Regions from separate parts of the Homo sapiens genome. Here all the other regions are linked to region 2. Evidence: promoter capture Hi-C in 16 types of primary human blood cells and fetal thymus (Javierre and others, 2016). All regions are on one chromosome and are shown on one strand. Each heading gives the region's core, a stretch centred on a gene start or on the middle of the fragment in contact. The rest is flanking DNA. Distances are from core to core; before and after follow the strand shown. Region 1 overlaps LINC01483 (long intergenic non-protein coding RNA 1483). Region 2 holds the start of KCNJ16 (potassium inwardly rectifying channel subfamily J member 16). Region 3 has its middle 370 kb from the start of KCNJ2. Region 4 has its middle 12 kb from the start of LINC01483. Region 5 has its middle 390 kb from the start of KCNJ2. Region 6 has its middle 270 kb from the start of KCNJ2. Region 7 has its middle 350 kb from the start of KCNJ2.

Region 1 (2,700 bases), core at 9-2,508, 470 kb before region 2:
TCTTGCACCATCAGTTGTGAAATTTCCTCATTAAAAACACTAGCAACAAATAGATAAAGACAGAGAAGCACCTTCCATATAAATCAGTAAAGATGAAAAAGCATAATTAGTGGCATGATGTGGTTTGGCTCTGTGTCCTCACCAAAATCTCATCTCAAATTGTAATCCCCAGAATCCCCGCATGTCAAGGGAGGGACCTGGTGGGAGATGATTGGATCATGGGGGCGGTTCCCCCATGCTGTTCTTGGGATAGCGAGTGAGTTCTCACGAGACCTGATGGTTTTATAAGTGTCTGACAGTTCCTTCTTCACACACACTCCTCTCTCTTACCTGCCGCCATGTAAGATGTCCCTGCTTCCCCTTCCACCATAAGTTTCCTGAGGCCTCCCCAGATGTGTGAATCTGTGAGTCAATCTCTTTCCTTTATAAATTGCCCATTCTCAGGTATTTCTTTATAGCAGTGTGAGAATGGTCTAATACATGATCTGTCTGAAATCCTGTTTTCTCTTCTGTTCTTTCGGACACCATAGATTTGAATACAAGCTCGCTTTGGAGACAGAACCTGTTGCTACTACTTTTGTAAGATAACATTTGTTTGCTAAGACTCTGATTCTGTTCTACATATAGTTTTATATTTTCCTTGCAGTCCTTAAGAATGCTGTGATGAGTTATAATAATAGCAATAAAAATAAATCTGCCAATTGTTGAGTTCCTTTCCCTGGTTGTTAATTTTGATAACCTCTTTAACGCAATGACCTCCTCTATACCACTTTCAATGACTGTACCTTGGGCCATGTTGACAATTCGAGTTGTTCCACTTCAGAAACCCAGAGTTCCCTCTCTCTAACTCTGATCACTTAGCTTCTGGTTAACTCCTAACAGGAGCTCCTATTATACCTGTTCTTTGGTCCTCTCATGACCTCTGGTCCTTTGAACATTTCTATCAGTTCCCTCTGGTCTTTACTTCTCTTCTTGCTTAGCTTAGCTTCACACATTTCATTTCTTGACTCACTTTTTTTGCCAGTATCCTAGATACCTTTGCTCTGGTTGTCATTGTTTTGTTGTTTGACCTCATGTCCACAAGACTGAGTTGTTAGTATACGTATGGTTAATCCAAGCAAGCTTCCTTCTTCCTTTAATCACATTTTTATTATTCAATTATTTTCCCCATCCTCCTCCATCCCTGATCCATTAACTCTTCTTGACATATGGCATCTGTGGATTACATTAGGGGATATTGCCTCAATCCAATTTCCACAGTTGTATTTTGACTTGAATATATCTAACCACCTATTAGATTAGGGCCATTCCTTTTGCTGTTTTCTCTACCTAGAACATTCTGCCTTCAGATTCCTAGAGAGTTTTCTCCTTTAGTTAAGTGTCATCTCATTAGCAAAGCTTCTCTGAACACTGTATTTAAAATTGTAGCACATCTTATGATAACTTTTGAGGACAAGCATCTCTCCATGTAAATAGCCTGAAAATGTAAGAGGAATGGAATAGTTAATTAAAACATGACATGCTCATAGATAAAATATAGGTAACCATAAAGATATGTAAATAAAGTATATAATTCTAAATATGCTTGGGATACTAATGCATGCATACATATATAGCTACTTCCATATATATATATATTTTTTTTGAGACGGAGTCTTGCACTGTCGCTCAGGCTGGAGTGCAGTGGCACGATCTCGGCTCACTGCAAGCTCTGCCTCCCGGGTTCACGCCATTCTCCTGCCTCTGCCTCTGGAGTAGCTGGGATTACAGGCGCCCGCCACCACGCCAGGCCAATTTTTTTTTTCTATTTTTAGTAGAGACGGGGTTTCACCGTGTTAGCCAGGATGGTCTCGATCTCCTGACCTTGTGATCCGCCCGCCTCAGCCTCCCAAAGTGCTGGGATTACAGGTGTGAGCCACCGTGCCTGGCTTCCATGTTTTTATACACAGATACGTACCAAGAAACAGACATACCTGCATTCAGGACTCTGGCTACATAGTTGTAGGGCTCTTTGCAAAATAAAAATTTGAAATCTCTTTTTCAAAAATTATTAAGAATTTCAAGACGGTGATAGGAGAGGATTAAACCAAGAATGGGATTCTTCTGAGTGTGTGGCCCTATCTGACTACACAGTGTATGCTCATAAAATCAGCTATGGATGAATATGTTGATGACAAAATTACTACAAAAAGATACGTTCAGATATTTCTTGTAGCTACCCTTTTTGATAGCATTATGGATGTTTATTATTTTTTTCCTACTACTTTTTGATACTACCTACAATTTTCTCAATGGCCATGGGTTGCTTTAATAGTCAGAAACAAGTCTGGGCATGGTGGCTCACTCCTGTAATCACAGCACTTTGGGAGGTCGAGGCAGGCAGATCACTTGAAGTTAGGAGTTCAAGACCAGCCTGGTCAACATAGCAAAAACCTGTCTGTATTAAAAATACAAAACATTAGCTGGGTGTGGTGGCATGGGCCTGTAGTCCTGGCTACTCATGAGGCTGAGGCAGGAGGATCGCTTGAGCCTAGGAGGTCAAGGCTGCAGTGAGCCAAGATCATGTCACTGCACTCCAAAGTAAGACTATTTCACACAAACAAACAAACAAAAAGACAGAAACAAAATTATTTCTAAAGGAAAGTACGATTTTTAAAAAATCGTGCAAAGCTATGATATATTCCCTGAAATTCAACTGTG
Region 2 (2,888 bases), core at 196-2,695:
GTAATTGAGCAGCATTAAGTGATAATATTGAACAACATCATGGATAAACCACAATGAGAGTTGCTGCAATTGTTATGGAAATGTAGGCATTTGTTTAGTCTTCAATTTTTTTTTTTAACAGAAAAGGCAACCTCTGCATTCACTGCTTACCTGAGATTTATGGATGAATGAAAAGATAGGTCCCTTGGAGAGTTCAAACTCTTCTGCAGATATTGTGTAACAGATTGCAAAATAGGTCTTCCTATCAGAATATGTATACCTTAGTGACAGCTATGAGTTTGGAACACGAATTATCTATCTGTGGTAGGTGTTGTCGTTGTTGCTATTATCATCCCCATTTGACAGTTGAGAAAATGGAGTTGCAGAAAGGTTAAGCAGTTTCTCAGTGTCACACAGCTAGTAAGTGGCGGTGCCAACATAGAAGTCCACTTCCTCAAGTGTTCATGCTTTTAAAAATGGAAACAAAACTCTAACAACCGTCAAACAGCAACGATTGTCAGAACCTAGAAAAGGCCTCTTAAATTTGCAGTGTTAACCAAGCCTGATGTGGTTCCCTAGATCCCCTGGCTGCCACCGCTCTGTGAAGCAAAGGAAAAACTAATTCCTTGCTAGCATAACACTTCTATTGAGCATTCCTGGACACAACTCCCCCAGGTTCTGAAGAGCCTAGGGTTGCTATTTGTTTAGTTCCCCATGGCTGCTTTTCACATTTTCTGGATCTTTCTCTTGATTCTAGCATTATAAGTCTACCTCTTCCCTGATCACTCACTTTTCTACCTCCTGGAGAGCACTGACCACGGGATCACCTCACCATTTTATTTAACCCATTAGGACTCAATGCCAGGCAAAACCTATACCACAGCCTGCATTGTATTCACCATCTCAGGCTCGAGCTCTGATTCCTGGGGTTGAGGAAAGGAAGACTTTCCAACCCCAATTTCTGCCATCCATGTTGATTAGTCAGAGGGCTAATCAACTGTGAACTCATGTTCTTTGGAACTAGGCAGCACAGGAAAAATAATCATTAAAGGTTTGGTAAATAAAAGACTGAATGGATGCTTAGCTACCTGTCATTATCCTGTCTCGCTTTTCGTCAGCATGCAATCCCAATCCTCAGCTGTTAAGATGTAGACAAAGAGTTCTGATGAAAGGGATTTATTTGTACTATTCCAACAGAGTCTGAAAACTAGCAGGAGCATTTCCATAGGTCGTCTCTCAACAATCCTGTCTGTAAATATTTGAGTCACTTACAGGCATTGTTGAGCATAGTTCTGGCCCAGCAAATCTTCCTCCTTTGTATCCCTGATCAAGTAAAAACTTAGTCAGGATATACTTGGGTGACCTTCACACTGTACCTCCTCCAGAGGTACAGAGGTGGTGACGTAATCACTGCCACAGCTGACTGGCTATGGCTTGCTTGATAAGACGCCAGGGGCTACCTATGTAGATTCCCAGGGAGGAACTGTAGGAACAAACCGGTGTCAATGGTTAACCCAGGTTCTTGGTGTCTGGAGCTTTTCTTTCCTTTATTATTAACTAAAGAGCATTCTCTACCATTGCCCAGCTGAAAGCACCTAGCTCATAGATTCTCTGTGGGGAGAGTGAATAAAGGTAAGTGCTATTATTGCTATGGATACAATGTCATTCAGCCTATGTTTTGCTCTTGCTGGCATCTGTGTTTGGGGAGCAGCAACACTCTGTTTCCAGCAAACGTAAATATTAATGATCAATTAAATGCAATTAAGATAATTTAATTTTTTATCCAAGTGCTTTAAGTAGGAATCAAACAGTGTGTCATATTCCTTAAGTTATTTTGAAGCTTTGGTTAAAAGTAGTCTCACATTGGTGTTTACAGAGTCTGTTAAACAGCCCTTGCCTGCTATTATATTTGTAAATGTCTAAAAGTGGCTTTATTATATTCATACCACATGGAGTATTCTGCAATGTCTTTCAAAACCAGATTTTTGCATCCTGTATGCACTTATGAACATATAATTGCAAATATTGAAAAATATGTATTTTATACCCCCCTCTTAAAAAGCTCAGAGAAAATACACGTTAACTTTTTTTTATAGTTGTCTATAATCATTGAAAGGAAATAAGAGATCTATTTTTTCTAGATTTATTTTAACATAAATTGAAAGTGAAGAATTTTCTCCTTTTGTTTTCACCTTAATCCCTCTAAAGCTTTTTTTTTTTTCTTATCATTTAAAAATCTTAAAATTTTGTTTTGAGTATTTAGTCAGAAAAGTGTGAGCTTGTAAAACTTTGCTCTCTGGATGCCACGAATTCTCTGACATATATAATTGAACAGTTTTCCTTGTTGGTATATTTAGGTAGTAAACAATAACATTTCTATAAGCCAGATGAATTTTGATCATGTGTATTACATGGACTGAATGGTCTTTAGAAAAAGAGTATTGGAGTATTTCTGCTAAATATTACTCTTATGGCTAGTAAGAGCCAGATCCTGAAGAAGAAAAAAATGTATGAATGCACCTTTGTTACTTTAGTATGGGAAATGTAGACTAGCCACTCTTTATGTCAGATTTTAACCAATAAAGGAACATGAAGTACCCAAACCACAGCTGTTTTGCAGAATACATTTAAGGAATTCCTGAAATTCAGCCAAAAAGAATTTAAAAGTGAACAAGGTCCAGAGTTCAATTCAAATCAAAAGAGAGAGAAAGAGAAAGAGAGCCTGAGTAACTTAGAGATGTAATCCTGCTTGTTTATTTTTAGAACACGATAATTGTGATAAATCTAAGATTATTAGTCTCATATACAACAAGACTGACAACCTTTGAAACTGCAAGAAAAGACTGCTTTGGGAGAGGAATTCAATATTCTATTTTAATGCATTTTTCTCAACAAGAATTTCAGCATGA
Region 3 (2,700 bases), core at 110-2,609, 460 kb after region 2:
AGTTGTCATGACTAAGAAGGTATTCTGGGACCTATACTCAGTAAAAAAACAATAAGCCACTCTCAGCCTAGATTTTCTTCTTTGGAGGACTTGGCCGCCAGTGTCATTTGCAACCAAGAAAACTTTTATAGGTCTGTTCTTATCAGAGCCTTCCTTTCATGAACAGGCAGGTCAGTCAACTCATCTTCTTTTCTCAACAATTTAGTGAAGTCAGAAAGACTGAAAGACAAAGCAAAAAGAAAGCCAGAGTTACAGTGTTTTAGATAAGCTAAAGCATTTATTGTTTCACCATAGCGGTGGCTGATGCAGATATATGTAGCTAATATCTTTAAAATTCTGGTTGATTCCCTTTCTGGTTGGTTGCATACCTTTCCCAGTGTAACTTCTCAGTGGGAGTAAATGATGTTCATCTAGACCAAAGATGCAAGCTATCATTTCTGTTTCCTTCCCACATAGGTATTTGTCTTTGTTTTGCAAGATTTTCTTTCTCTATCCCTCAATTTAAAAGGCAAATTCCTTAAAAATCCATGGACAATTTCAGGTGTATAGTGCATGGTTCAATTGCCCCAGAGGATAATGTTGAAGTTGCTTTGCAGAGGGGTGCAAGAGAAAGGGGGGTGTAATCCAAGATAATAGTAAAAGCCGATAAGCATTGCCATTTCAGGAAACTCTGCCACATAACTTGGCAGTTTGAAAATTTAGCCAACCTTTTTATAGGGAGGTCATTAAATTCCAGTATTTCATACATATTGTGCTTCAAAGCAGGCAGGTATTCATTATTTTTACTTCATTTTGTTTTATTAAAATAAATGCTTCAGAATACCTTATGCAAAACAAAATCCAAATACATTTTTGAAAACACATGTATACTTTGCTTCTAAACTAGAAAAAACCATATTGCTGGTTTAGGTGACAATTCAATAGGAAGTGAAATTTTTTAATCTAATACATTTTTAAAAAGCTGAGAGTTTACTAGTTTCATATGTATTTTGCCACTAAATCCCTCTTCATTAAGGATATTTATTGCAAAATAATCATCTTTAGAAAAAGGAGGTAGATGTCTTGATTTTGAAACTGAACGATAACATGAAACTGAATAACATGCATAACCTTTACATTTAGAAACAAATTGCTATAATTGCCTCTTGAACAACAAATAAGCAAAAATAACATTAAAATTAAAATATTGTAATATTTCTTTTAAAATTATTTTCCTTTTTTTGAGACAGTCTCACTCTGTCACCCAGGCTAGAGTGCAGTGGCGTGGTTATGGCTCACTGCAGCCTGGACCTCCTGGGCTCAAGTGATCCTCCTGCCTCAGCCTCCCAAAATGTTGAGATTAGAGGCATGAGCCACCGTGCCTGGCCTTGTAATATTTTTCAAAAAACCGCTTCTTAAACCAGGAAGAGAAAAAGATATGCATCATAATTCAGAATGCAGTGTGTCAAATGACTTAATTTTATTTGATCTGCAGCAGAAAAATGTAATTTCTTATTTGAGATTCTTTGATGTTGCCATTTCACTTTTGCCTTTCTTGTTGGCTAATAGCTGGGAATTATTTCCTGGAAAAGTATCTGATCCATTAAGGAAAGAATATGACCATGTTTCGTGGAAATTAAAAAGTAATGTAGACAAATATTCATAGAAGATACAAGTGTGACCCTAAAGTTAGTATTTGAATGTTGTTCTCCTATTTCTGATTTTATTGACCCAAAATATCAAGCTAGGTTTATCCATGTTTGCGTGTAGCATTTTAATTACTTAGCCTAAGAAAAGATGGAATTGAATTTCAAATGTAAAGCAGTAGGAAAAAAAAAGAGAGATTTCTCTTTAGGTTTTCAAAAATGTATTTCTTGGAGCTTCTTGATTTTGGCAGAATGAGCAAAAACAGGACTGAGAGGACTGAACTAACTATTCTTGTCGTTGAATGTGGGAGTTATTTCTGTTTGCTTCCTCTACAAAATCAGTTTCTCCAACCACATCTTGAGAAGTTTTCCTTTGCACAACATGTTTGACAAATTGCCAAGCAAAGGCATTGAAGAATCTCGGCTTCATCCTACAACCTTTTTCTTCATCTCAGAACCTTCAACCTACAACTTTTTCTTCATCTCAGAACACGTCTTAGAAGATATGAGTCTCCAAAATAGCAGAGGGGAATGTTTTACTTAAAAAATGTGTGTGAGATCACTGTACATAAAGTTATTCACATGATAATGGATACAGAACTCCATTGATGAAAAACGTTAGGAATTTTCTCATATATTTAAATGTTTGATAAGTTATTTTCTTTATTTTGGTGACCAGAATGCACACAAATGGTTGCATAATTTATGTAGATATATGCAAAAGCTCTGCCAACAGGTACTTGTGGGAGAATCAAAGTCTGCTCTATCCATGCATTCCTTTTACATTCCTTTTACTTCCACCTCCACTTCTTATTTCTTTCTTTTTTTTTTTTTTTTTTTTTTTGGAGACGGAGTCTCACTCTGTTACCCAGGCTGGAGTGCAGTGGCACAATCTTGGCTCACTGCAACCTCCACCTCTCCACCTCCCGGGTTCAAGCAATTCTCCTGCCTCCGCCTCCCGAGTAGCTGGGACGACAGGCCCACGCTGCCACACCCGGCTAATTTTTTGTATTTTAGTAGAGATGGGTTTTCACCGTGTTGCCCAGGCTGGTCTCCCAAAGTGCTAGGATTATGG
Region 4 (2,712 bases), core at 108-2,607, 490 kb before region 2:
CTTGTAAGGTAGCACTGCTCAAATCCCGTTGGGATTTAGTTTGTTTTTAAATCCATGTAGGCTAGAATCCTTCTCATACTTCTTGTACTCAGTATTTTTTTTTTTGCGCTATTCTCCTTAGCAGCATCTAATACCAGTTTTCCCCTTTGGAGGTTTGCCCAGTGGTGCAGTTAGGGAAATAATGATAATGATTCTGCCTCGTGTGTGTGTGTGTGTGTGTGTGTGTGTGTGTGTGTGTGTATTATAGCTCAGTCTATAAGGGAACGTGCAATCTTTAACTTATCTGACCTCTGTTTTCTAACTTGTAAAATACGATGAATAATAATCACCTTATCTATCTCCTGGAATAGTTGTGTGTCCAAATTAGAATGTGACTAAAAACACAATTAAAGTGCTATATAAATAAAATGAATCATTCTTATACTCATCATCAAAGTCCTTAGCGGATGTCTTTCGTGTGACTTTTAAACCCATTCTCCCATTGCTTCCTATAAAGTAGGAAATCACCCAATGAGAACTCCTTTTTTTTTTTTTTTTGGCATTAGCCTGTGAATCATAGACTTATTTCTTCTAAAGTGACAATTAAAAGCAAAGAGAAAGAAAGCCCAACTGCATAAACACATCTATTTATATTTTAAACTGAAAGTGCATTCACCCAAACCACAAAACCCCAAATCAACTTTTAGCTCCTTCCGAGGCCATGTCCAGTCCCTGGGCTCTCCCGGAGGTGAACTGCTGGGAAAGTGTGTGGGCTTCAAGCCCAGGATCGACTCAATGGCTTCTTCCTCTCCCCTCCCCACGCCTTCCCTCCAGCACACCTGTTTGCAGAACTTCTTCCTCTCTTGCCCAGGCATTTTGATTCTGGTCACGACCACCTGTGAAGGATGACGCAGATTTAGCCCTACGCACATCCTTGCCTTGTTGCTGTCTTCAGGGTCCCAAACTGGGTTGATTCACCCCACAGGACATTATTTTTAGCCTTTATCTCTTAGTGGTTTTGTTTTCTTTCCGCCGCCTTTTGACCTGAGAGCTGGAAATAAAGTCCGCCTTCCATAAAGACGAGAAAGTTGTCAGTCATTTCCTTCCTGCTCACATGAAAGGCCGGCCCAACGGAGCTTGCAGAAGACGCTGCAAGTTCCAGTTCACTGGGTCCTGAAAACACCCGCACTTTGGGAGTGAATTTCATTTCTTCCGTGTAGGCTAAGAAGAGAGGTTGCCTGGGCTAGGCAGCTGTTCTTTCAAAGGGTCTTGAAGATGCTCAAGGGAAATGCAATAAAAGAAAACCACATTTTCCCTCTCCTTTTGATCATGGTTGCTGAACCCAAACACCTGGGCAGCCTGCCTACTTTTAAATATTTGAAATAATTAAAAGAAATTCACAGGCAAAACGAGAAAGTATTGCTTTCAGCATGAAATCATATCACACTATAACATCATTGGACAGAAAACTTAGTTTTTACTATGAAATAAAATATGAGAAATTGCTTTGCAAATTTTGTAAAGTGCTAGGTATATTAAAGATCTCGAAAATTATAGTTTGTTTTTTCTGATTCTGAAATGAATATATATGTATCTATATATATTCAAATGAAATAGAAATATATAAAAATAGAAAAATATATGAGCATGCAGTATCTTTTTCAATATCGGAATTCATTTTTGGGCTATTATAATTCAACCACTTGCCTATTGATATTATTTTTGGAGAGGTATTATCAATATTAGTGCCACTAATTTCCTCCTACATTTATGAGTGAACTTTTCTATCATTATCATTCAGATTAAATTCTAAATGTGTAATTACTGACTCAAGGCATACACAATTAAATTAAAATTAAGTTATAGCTGATGAATGAAAATTATATATATTTATGGTATGCGACGTTTTGATATATGCATACGTCGTGAAGTGGTTAAATGAAGCTAGTTAACATCTCCATTACCACAATATACTTACTTTTGTTGTGAGAACATTTAACATCTACATCCTTAGCAGTTTTTCAAGTACACAGTATATTATTATCAACTACAGACACCCATTTCTCCAGGAAGACAGTACCAATTTACAGTTTCTACAAAGGTGTATATAAATTTCCATTTTCTCAAACTCTTGCCAACAGAGGGTTTTGTTTGCCTGCTTCTCAATCTTTGTTACTTTGGCTGTCCTATTTGTTATTGGGTAACTTGAGTATCTTTGTGTATATTTGTGAGCTATTTAAATCTGTCTCTCATGAATTGTTTAATCCTTTCCCATTGTTTTTTCCTGTGAGGTTATCTTTTACTAATTGATTGATAAGAATCACTTTCCTATTGGGTATTAATTATTTTTCTCTTATATATGCAAATATCTTCCCAGTTTGTCACTTGCATTTTTGCTGCCATACAATGTTTTTTTCCTTTGTTTTTAAGTGGCTAGGCATATTCATCTTTTCCTTTATGGTTTCTGCTTTTTGTGTTGGATGGCATTTTCTGTCACTGGATATGAGGCTTGCTTCTAGGCAGGCTTTGGAGCTGGACAGACTAACTTAAGCCTCACTTCTGTCTCACATTGGCTGAGACTCCAAGAGGACAAATCAGTTGCCCAGGTCTGTGTATCGGGATAATAATCCATATTTCACAGTGTTGTTTAATAACTAGTAGGCTTAGGGGTCTAGAGCTCAGGACTAGGCTTGTCATAAAGGAGGGGCAGGGTGTTAGTTTCCTTTCTCCCTC
Region 5 (2,854 bases), core at 272-2,771, 480 kb after region 2:
TCTCCTTATCCCTGCTCACTTTTCATCCTTTAGTAACCACTATTCTACTCTCTACTTCTATGAGATTGACATTTTAGCTTCCATATATGAGTGAGAACATGCAGTGTTTATCTTTCTGAACCTGGCTTATTTCACTTAACACAGTGTCCTACAGATTCATCCACATTGCCACTAATGATAGAATGTTACTCTTTTTTAATGACTGAATATTCCATTCTATATTATAATTATATATAATGGAGTAATATGTATTTATAATATAGTTGTTTATATATGTGTGTGTGTGTGTATATATATATGTGTGTGTGTGTGTATAGCCATTATGGAAAGTAATATAATTATATATGTATATATAAAATCACATCTATATGTAAAACTTTTTATTTCTTTGTTCAGTCTTGTAGGTTATATGTATCCAGGAATTTACCTATGTCCTTTAGGTTTTCTAATTTGTTATTTTACATATATATATATATATATATATATATATATATATATATATACACACACACACACACACACACACACACACACACACATATATATATATATAAACATTTTCCTTTTCCATTCACCTGTAGATGGGCATTGAGGTCATTTCCATATCTTGGCTGTTGTAAATAGTGCGGCCATAAACATTAGAAGCCTTGTCTTCAGGTTCAGAAATTCTTCTTTTTGATTTAGTCTCTTATTAAAGCTATTGATTGTAATTTTTTTTGTTTTTTATTATGTTTTTTGGCTCCAAGGTTTTTGTTTAGTTCTTTTAAAGGTATCTATCTCATTGTTGAATTTTTCTTTCAAATCACGAATTTTTTCTTTTTCTTTTTTTTGAGATGGAGTCTCACTCTGTCACCCAGGCTGGAGTATGGTGGCGCGATCTCGGCTCACTGCAACCTCTGCCTACCGGGTTCAAGCGATTCTTCTGCCTCAGCCTCCCAGGTAGCTATGACTACAGGCGCGTGCCACCATACCTGGCTGATTTTTGCATTTTTAGTGAAGACAGGGTTTCACCATGTTGGCCAGGCTGGTCTGGAACTCCTGACCTCAAGTGACCTGCCCACTTCAGCCTCCCAAAGTGCTGGAATTACAGGCATGAGCTACCGTGCCTGACCCAAATACCCAAATCATTTTTTTTTTTTTTGCTCTATTTTCTATCTGTATTCTCTTGTATCCTGTATAGTTTCCTTAAGATCATTCTTTTGAATTATTTTTCTGGCATTTCATGAATTTTCTTTGGGGTCTGTCACTAGAGAATTATTATGTGTCTTTGAAGCTGTCATTTTTTTTTTTTGCTTGTTTATGTTTCTTATGTCCCTATGTTGATATCTGCACATCTGGTGGCAAACTTGTCCCTTTCAGTTTTATGGAGTAGCTTTTGTAGGAAAAGACTTATTCCTGTAGATGAGCTCTAGCATATTGGCTGGGTAAGATGCACTGGTTTTGGTTCTGGGTTGACACAGTAATATAGTTTAGTTTTCATGCAATTTCTTAGGTTATATTTTATGTTAACAAGATATTTGCAAGTGTCTAAGTGGCCTAGGCTGTGGAAGTTTGTGATCATGGTGGTGTAGCTTTGCCAGCTGGCCCTACTGGGCCTACTGGGCTGATTCTCAGGCCACAGACATGTAAATTCTCATCAGAGTAAGGTCACTGAGATATTTCCCTTACCAGGGGTACAGACATGCAGACGTGTGGCAGGGTATCCAATTCAGAGGAAAGGCCACATTGGATGCGTTTGCTAGGCTGTTTCTCTGGCTGAGAACATAAGGATGCAGCAGCTTGGCCCCTGGGGAATGAACTGAGTGCTGGAGGTGGGTCGGCCTGCTACCCTAGCCCAAGGTGTGGGCACATGGTAGCTTGGCCAGCTTGGAGGAAAGTTGAACTTATAAATATTGTGACATCCAAGATTTATTTTTATTTCAAAGGATTAAAATTAATAGTTGTAACAGTCCACTGTGAAGTAAAAACTACCCAAATATTTATTGACAATAGAATGGATATATAAATTGTTGTCTAATCATACATTAGAGTAATATCCAACAATGGCAGTAAATTATTTGTAATTGTATGCAACAACATGGACGAATCTCAAAACATCATGTTGAGTAAAAGAAGCCAGACTCAAGAGTGTACATATTGTATAATACCCCTTATAGAATAAACAAAGTTGTGCAAAATTACTCTTTGCTATTAAAGGGAGAAATGCTAGTGACAGAAAGTGATCATGAGACATTTTCTTTGATGCTACTTAAGTATATGCATTTGAGTATATGCATACATATTTTAAAGATGGCATCTAAAGTGGTCTTTCTAAAACAAAAATATAATCATAAAAATCTCATGCCCAAAAAGTTTATACTCTAAAAGGCTCACCATTTCAAACAGATAACATCCGCCTAATCTTTAACATGGCTAACCCAATTTTTCATATCGACTTCTCTGACTTCTCTTGGCTTATCTTTCTTTTGGATTCCTTACCCAAACCTTTATATATTCATGTACACCTCACTAATTATCCACAGTTTTCTTATTATTCATTAAATTCCCCACTTGGTCTCCTTCTTACATGTTCTCCCCAATCTGGTTAGAGATCTCTCCTACTTCCTCCCAAAGCACCATGTGTTTCCTTCAGCTTAGCAGTTACCACATTCCTTGGTAAGTACTAATCAATTTGTATGTTTACCGGACTCAGACTGTGACGACAAGGACCTTATTTATCCCCACTGTAAAGTCTTGTGCCTGGAATACAACCGAATCTGAATATCTGTTTTCTGTATAACTAATTCTATCATGGATGAGATTTTTATAATTATTAATGTGATGTTTCTTCTTTTGCTATTTTATTTATAAGGCT
Region 6 (2,780 bases), core at 187-2,686, 360 kb after region 2:
TAGAATGACATGGGAACTATTAGAAATTGTGACATCTAGGCTGCACCTCAAACTCCTTTGTGTACTGAACATTGCTGTATCCTTGCTACAATGGAACTGAGTATTATGACAGGGACCTTCTGGCATGTAAGGCCAAAGATACTTATTATCTGGCCTTTTACAGAAAATTTGTTGATCACTGATCAAGAAACCATAATAGTGAATCAAACCAAGGATGAATAGCTTTCTAAAACTACATATGTGTCTCTAATTTACCAAATCACGCACTCCACAATTCATAACTTATGGTGGGCAATTGTGGGGGGGCAGCAGGAAAAACTGTCTTCACCATTTTTCACTATTTGGTCTCTATAAGAAATCATTACCTGCCCCCTTCTGCCCTTTAAAAATCAGTAACTTGCAAAGGAATTGAGAAATTTTAAAAGTCTATAAGGTCAAACACAGCTCTCTTTCATTGAAAGGGATTAAAGAGCATAAAGTTACAGTTAAGAGGAGTAAAATTAGGGATCTATTGCACAGGATGGTAACCATTGTTAATAATAATGCAATGTATATTTCAAAATTAATGAAATAGTAGATATTAAAGATCATTCAAAAAGATAAGTAGGTGGGCTGATGGATATATTAATTAGATTTATTTAATCTTTTGATAATGTATACATATATCAAAATATCACATTGTACCCCATAGATGTATACAGCTATTTTTAGTCAATTAAACATTTAATAAAAATTTTAAGAGCTAGACTGCCCTATAGTACTGAGTATTTGAAATAATCTTTTGATTGCCTGTTTAGCATCACTGTTATCTGAAGCTGTTCTTTGCTTTTTGAATGTGCTAAGCTCTTTTCATACATTGGTTAAATATTATTGTAAGAAATATAATTTTTGAGTAGGTATTAAAACTGGAATCCCTTCTCGCAATTATAAGGGGAAAATCCATAGCAACAAAATAGCCTAAGTCTTTGTCTGTTAATTAAATGTAAGTTAATGGCTGTTTAGGAAAACAAAAAATGCCACCTGGGATAGAAAATTTAATTAGCTCCAAAAGAACATAAGTCAAAGACTTCTGCATTAGTTTTCTGTTGCTGCTGTCACAAATTACCACGAAGTTAGTGGCTTAAAACAACACAAAATTTATTACCGCATGGTTCTGCAGTCAGAGTCTGACATGGGTCTTACTAGGCTCAACTCAGGGTGTTGACAGGGCGGCATTTCCTTCTGGAAGCTATAGGGCAGGACCTGCTTCCTTGCCTTTTCAGCTTCTAGAAACAGTCTGCATGGCTTGATTCACAGACCCCTTCCTCCACCTTCAAAGAGCTCCTCATGTGACAATCACTGTGACCTTCCTTTCTGACTCTTTTCTACTTTTACAGACCCTTATGATTATGTTAGGCTTGCCCAGAGAATCCAGGATAATCTATTTTAAGATCAGCTGACTTGCCACCTTCAATCCATTTGCAACCTTAATTTCCGTTTGCCATGTAGTATGTATCCTACATATGTTACGATGTGTAGTATACTCACAGGTTTCAGGGATTAGGATATAAGCATCTTTGAGGGCCATTATTCTGACATCCACAAGTCCAATTGTAGTATTGGTCTGGGAGGGAATGAGTGGGTGTACCCCATCTGAAGACCATTCTCCTTTTTCTAAGAAATTCCCCATTGTCTGAATCTGGGTAAAAACCAGAACCCCAGTTCCCTTTCTAGAAACGCCACTCCTCTCACCCTTGACAGCTAGAGCACAAGCCAACCAGCTGCACCCACCCTGGACTTTGAATCTTGGCAGAGCACTTTAATTTTATGGGGATAAACATTATTCATGGTGACAGTGGTAATAGTTGCTGTGAGAATTGTGAGGTGTGTGGCAAAGGCAGCAGCACCAGGACTTTAGATGTGATGGGCTTTAGCATTTAATGGCGGCAGTACCAGAAGTGTGGTACCACCAAAAGTCACCTAACGAGAATGTTCTCGGGGTGACTGTGCCCATGCTTCTTCCACCTTGGGCAATACTCATATTTCTTGCCTACATTGATTGTCAGTCATTTTTGGCACCTGGTTCTCTAAGCTGTGAACTACCCATATCCCTGTAATTCATTTCTTTTCTTCTTAAATTGACCATAATCAGGTTCTGTGGATTGTAACCAAGAATCTTTATTGTAACCAAGAATATTCTTTTGAGTAAGATCCTTCAGGAAATTTTTATTTTCAATGGCTTGCTCTCTGTAAGAAAGCCTGATTTATAAATTAGGAAACTTGGAGTAAAGAACAAGTTGTCAGAATACTGGCACAGCTTCATTGGTCAAGTAGGAGCTAAGACAGCTGATAATCTGGTAGGAATGCCCTTTATGCAGATGACAGGGGAATCAATATAGAAGTCTTAGAACAATGGTAGAACTAGGCTTTGGTTGGGCAATCTTGATAACTGAGAAGGTAAATTTAGAATGTGAAATACAGCAGCAGAAGACTAGGGGAGAAAGATTACTTTTTTTAAAAAAATTATACTTTAAGTTCTGGGATACATGTGCAGAACATGCAGATTTGTTACATAGGTGTACATATGCCATGGTGGTTTGCTGCACCCATCAACCCTTCATCTACATTAGGTATTTCTCCTAATGCTATCCCTCCCCTAGCCCCCCATCCCCCGACAGGCCCAGGTGTGTGATGTTCCCCTCCCTGTATCCATGTGTTCTCATTGTTCAACTCCCACTTATGAGTGAGAACATGCAGTGTTTGGTTTTCTGTTCCTGGGTTAGTTTGCTGAGAATGATGGT
Region 7 (2,700 bases), core at 59-2,558, 440 kb after region 2:
ATCCTCCAGTATGTTATTTTAGGTTGCCTAACCGAGACAGTGGGGTATAGAGGTTGAAAGGACAGCAAAAAATAGTAAAAATTAGAGTGGAAACAAGTGGGAAAGTATTGTTGGAATTATCAGGTCATGTACCTAACCCTTATAACACTGAAGAACTTCAGGTACACACACTGGGGCCTGTTGGGGTGTGGGGTGGGGAAAGGAAGCATTAGGAAAAATAGCTAATGCATGCTGGACTTAATAACTGGGTGATGGGTCGATAGGTTCAGCAAACCACCATGGCACACATTTACCTGTGTAACAGACCTGCACATCCTGCACAAGTACCCCAAAACTAAAAATTAAAATTAAAAGAAAGATAAAAGAACCCAGGTAGTGATTTTTGGTTTTAGCACCATCATTTGACATACTTATACAATGAAAATCCAATGAATACCTCACTCTCTGTTTCCCAGGAATCTTCATGAGGAAGGTTACTCCACCAGCACTTAGGTCCCTGATTTATAAAGATACTATCAATTATGTTCCCACCCTTTCAAGATGGGTGCTCAGAAAGAAATTTCATGCCACGTGGTTATAGCACCACACTCTGTTGCTTTGTTCCGGGATTTAGTATGATCCCTCTTTATTCATTGCTCTGAACCAGACCAGGTGTCATATTAAGGACCTTAGATATACTGCAGGAATCTCTCTCTGTCTTGCTCTCTTTCTCTTTTACACACACACACACACACACACACACACACACACAATTCAAAACTGAGATATTCCAAGATGAACACTAATAAGTAATAGAGACATGATGCAAAGATACCTTAAGTGGAAGGGGATTTAAAAATGAGAGGATCAAAGAGGCAAGTGCATAAAAGAACTGGGTAGAGAGATAGCAGGGGAGTGCAGGAGTAGTCCTGCCACCAGACGTTGTTTCAGCAGCTGGATTTCACACATCCTTCTTTATGACATTACAGGACAGTTCAATACCCAATGTGAAAAAAGTCTAAGATCATTTTCCAATCTAGCCTTATTGGTTCCCATATGTACTACATCCATCTTCAACATCCAACATATTATTTTCTGAAGAGTCTAGGAAAATGATTGTCCAGAGGATGGATGGAAAGAAAATTTGTTCTCCTATCTTTATAGTTCTCAGAATTACTATTTATTTCAAAGATTGATCATCTGTGTTTTGAGACTGCTGTTTACCAATGACAAACAAATGTATTTTCCCCATTTTTCCTAACTGCAATTGTTTAAACAAGCATATCATTTCCTTGTATATGTTGTGTGTCTTTAGTTAGTTTTGTAATAAACTTCCTGAATCACAGTGATAACATGACTCATGACAAGACAGTGTGTCTTTTATTGTGTTGGGGAATTTTAAAGTTAGAAAAATCAATCATTGCTGAAATAAAGAGACATTAATAGAAACTAGGACTTTATGTCTTTATAATGCTTTGGTAGTAACAGATCACAAATTAAAATGTATAAATATCATTCTACCTTTTAAAGGTCTAAAACAAAGGAAGCCTGATACAATTTTGGAAGTCTTTCTGAAAGTGTACTTTTTTTTTTTTTTTTTTTTTTTTTGAGACAGGGTCTCACTCTGTTGCCCAGGCAGGAGTGCAGTGACGCCATCATGGTTCATTGCAGCCTCGACCTCCTGGGCTCAGTTGATCCTTCTGCCTCAGTCTCCTGGGTAGCTAGTACTACAAGCGTACACCACCATGCCAGGCTAATTTGTTTCTTAAATTTTTTGTAGAAGCGGGGCCTCACGTTGTTGCCCAAGCTGGTCTCAGACTCCTAGGATCAAGCAATCCTCCTGTATTGGCCTCTCTAAGTGATGGGATTACAGGTGCAAGCCACTGTGCCCAGCCTTGAAGTATAAGTACCTTTTAGAAATAAATGCAAATACATCTTATTTCTTGGGATTCTGTATAATGCCAAACTAATATACACAACATAGACTCCTTTCAGGCCAATTTATGATATAAAATATTTTAGAATTCTTCAGGATTTGAATGAAAAAGAATGAAGTGGAACTATCTAAGACAGAAAATTTTTTAAAAAAATCAAAGTTTGGGTAATGTTTAGAGACGCGTGTGTGTGTGTGTGTGTGTGTGTGTGTGTGTGTGTGTGTCTTCCACTTTAATCAGTCTCTATGCATTTTGCTTCCAGGACAGGAATCCAAACTCCAAGATTCCAGGGAAAGGTCTATTTAGGGGAATGTTTGGCCACTTTAATAAAAATAAAAGACAGATAATCTCATAAAATAACACTTTTATATGAAATTTCCACCATAGATTTTCAGCCCAAAGAAGCTGAGATGAGCTGCCCAGCGGTCTGCATTTTTCCCCATTTTTTTCTACACGAGGGTGGGTGAGGAAAGGGTGGCCACTGGAATTATTTGGAACAGTAACTGTCACAGGATTCTCTTTCCTTTCCTCTTCCTTTGCAGCCAACTTTTTTTTTTTTCACTCCGGATTCTATCAACATCTAAAATCCCCAGTACCTCTGCTTTGTGACTTGGTATTCTGGAATTTTACCAACTGTTTGCCCCTCAACCATCGTGGAAGAATATCTTTATTTCTTGGAAGAGCGAAGAATGACGTACCGCTCATCCCTTTCCACATTTCTTCCACATTCATTTTCATTTTGTTCACATAAAAAATGAAGTCCAGTGCTTTGGTGGACAGACAGAAA

The links. The method cuts DNA at HindIII sites, captures the fragments that hold promoters and counts their contacts. A CHiCAGO score of 5 or more calls a contact.
Region 1: a contact is called between a fragment that was not itself captured here and the fragment with the promoter of KCNJ16 in region 2, in 1 of 17 cell types (M2 macrophages). The highest score is 6.2, in M2 macrophages.
Region 3: a contact is called between a fragment that was not itself captured here and the fragment with the promoter of KCNJ16 in region 2, in 1 of 17 cell types (neutrophils). The highest score is 5.7, in neutrophils.
Region 4: a fragment that was not itself captured here is called in contact with the fragment with the promoter of KCNJ16 in region 2 in 2 of 17 cell types (M1 macrophages and M2 macrophages); the score reaches 7.4 in M1 macrophages.
Region 5: a contact is called between a fragment that was not itself captured here and the fragment with the promoter of KCNJ16 in region 2, in 1 of 17 cell types (monocytes). The highest score is 5.7, in monocytes.
Region 6: a fragment that was not itself captured here is called in contact with the fragment with the promoter of KCNJ16 in region 2 in 1 of 17 cell types (neutrophils); the score reaches 6.3 in neutrophils.
Region 7: a contact is called between a fragment that was not itself captured here and the fragment with the promoter of KCNJ16 in region 2, in 1 of 17 cell types (neutrophils). The highest score is 5.4, in neutrophils.

What each region holds. Positions count from the first base shown.
Region 1 is chr17:69,599,355-69,602,054 of GRCh38, forward strand. All of the region lies in intron 2 of LINC01483 (long intergenic non-protein coding RNA 1483), which reads left to right. Among named protein-coding and RNA genes, the nearest start is that of LINC01483, 6.7 kb to the left of the region's middle. The HindIII fragment of the contact is 276 bases long and covers 1,121-1,396 here.
Region 2 is chr17:70,073,780-70,076,667 of GRCh38, forward strand. It overlaps KCNJ16 (potassium inwardly rectifying channel subfamily J member 16), which reads left to right and starts at 1,446. Exons shown (of 4, transcript NM_170741.4): 1 at 1,446-1,611. It overlaps LOC105371881 (a long non-coding RNA gene), which reads right to left and starts at 1,028. Exons shown (of 3, transcript XR_934952.3): 1 at 1-1,028. The HindIII fragment of the contact is 12,238 bases long and covers 1-1,817 here.
Region 3 is chr17:70,537,343-70,540,042 of GRCh38, forward strand. No RefSeq gene overlaps it. Among named protein-coding and RNA genes, the nearest start is that of KCNJ2, 370 kb to the left of the region's middle. The HindIII fragment of the contact is 8,674 bases long and covers 1-2,700 here.
Region 4 is chr17:69,580,691-69,583,402 of GRCh38, forward strand. No RefSeq gene overlaps it. Among named protein-coding and RNA genes, the nearest start is that of LINC01483, 12 kb to the right of the region's middle. The HindIII fragment of the contact is 4,683 bases long and covers 1-2,712 here.
Region 5 is chr17:70,556,383-70,559,236 of GRCh38, forward strand. No RefSeq gene overlaps it. Among named protein-coding and RNA genes, the nearest start is that of KCNJ2, 390 kb to the left of the region's middle. The HindIII fragment of the contact is 5,974 bases long and covers 1-2,854 here.
Region 6 is chr17:70,433,512-70,436,291 of GRCh38, forward strand. No RefSeq gene overlaps it. Among named protein-coding and RNA genes, the nearest start is that of KCNJ2, 270 kb to the left of the region's middle. The HindIII fragment of the contact is 8,246 bases long and covers 1-2,780 here.
Region 7 is chr17:70,516,702-70,519,401 of GRCh38, forward strand. No RefSeq gene overlaps it. Among named protein-coding and RNA genes, the nearest start is that of KCNJ2, 350 kb to the left of the region's middle. The HindIII fragment of the contact is 6,123 bases long and covers 1-2,700 here.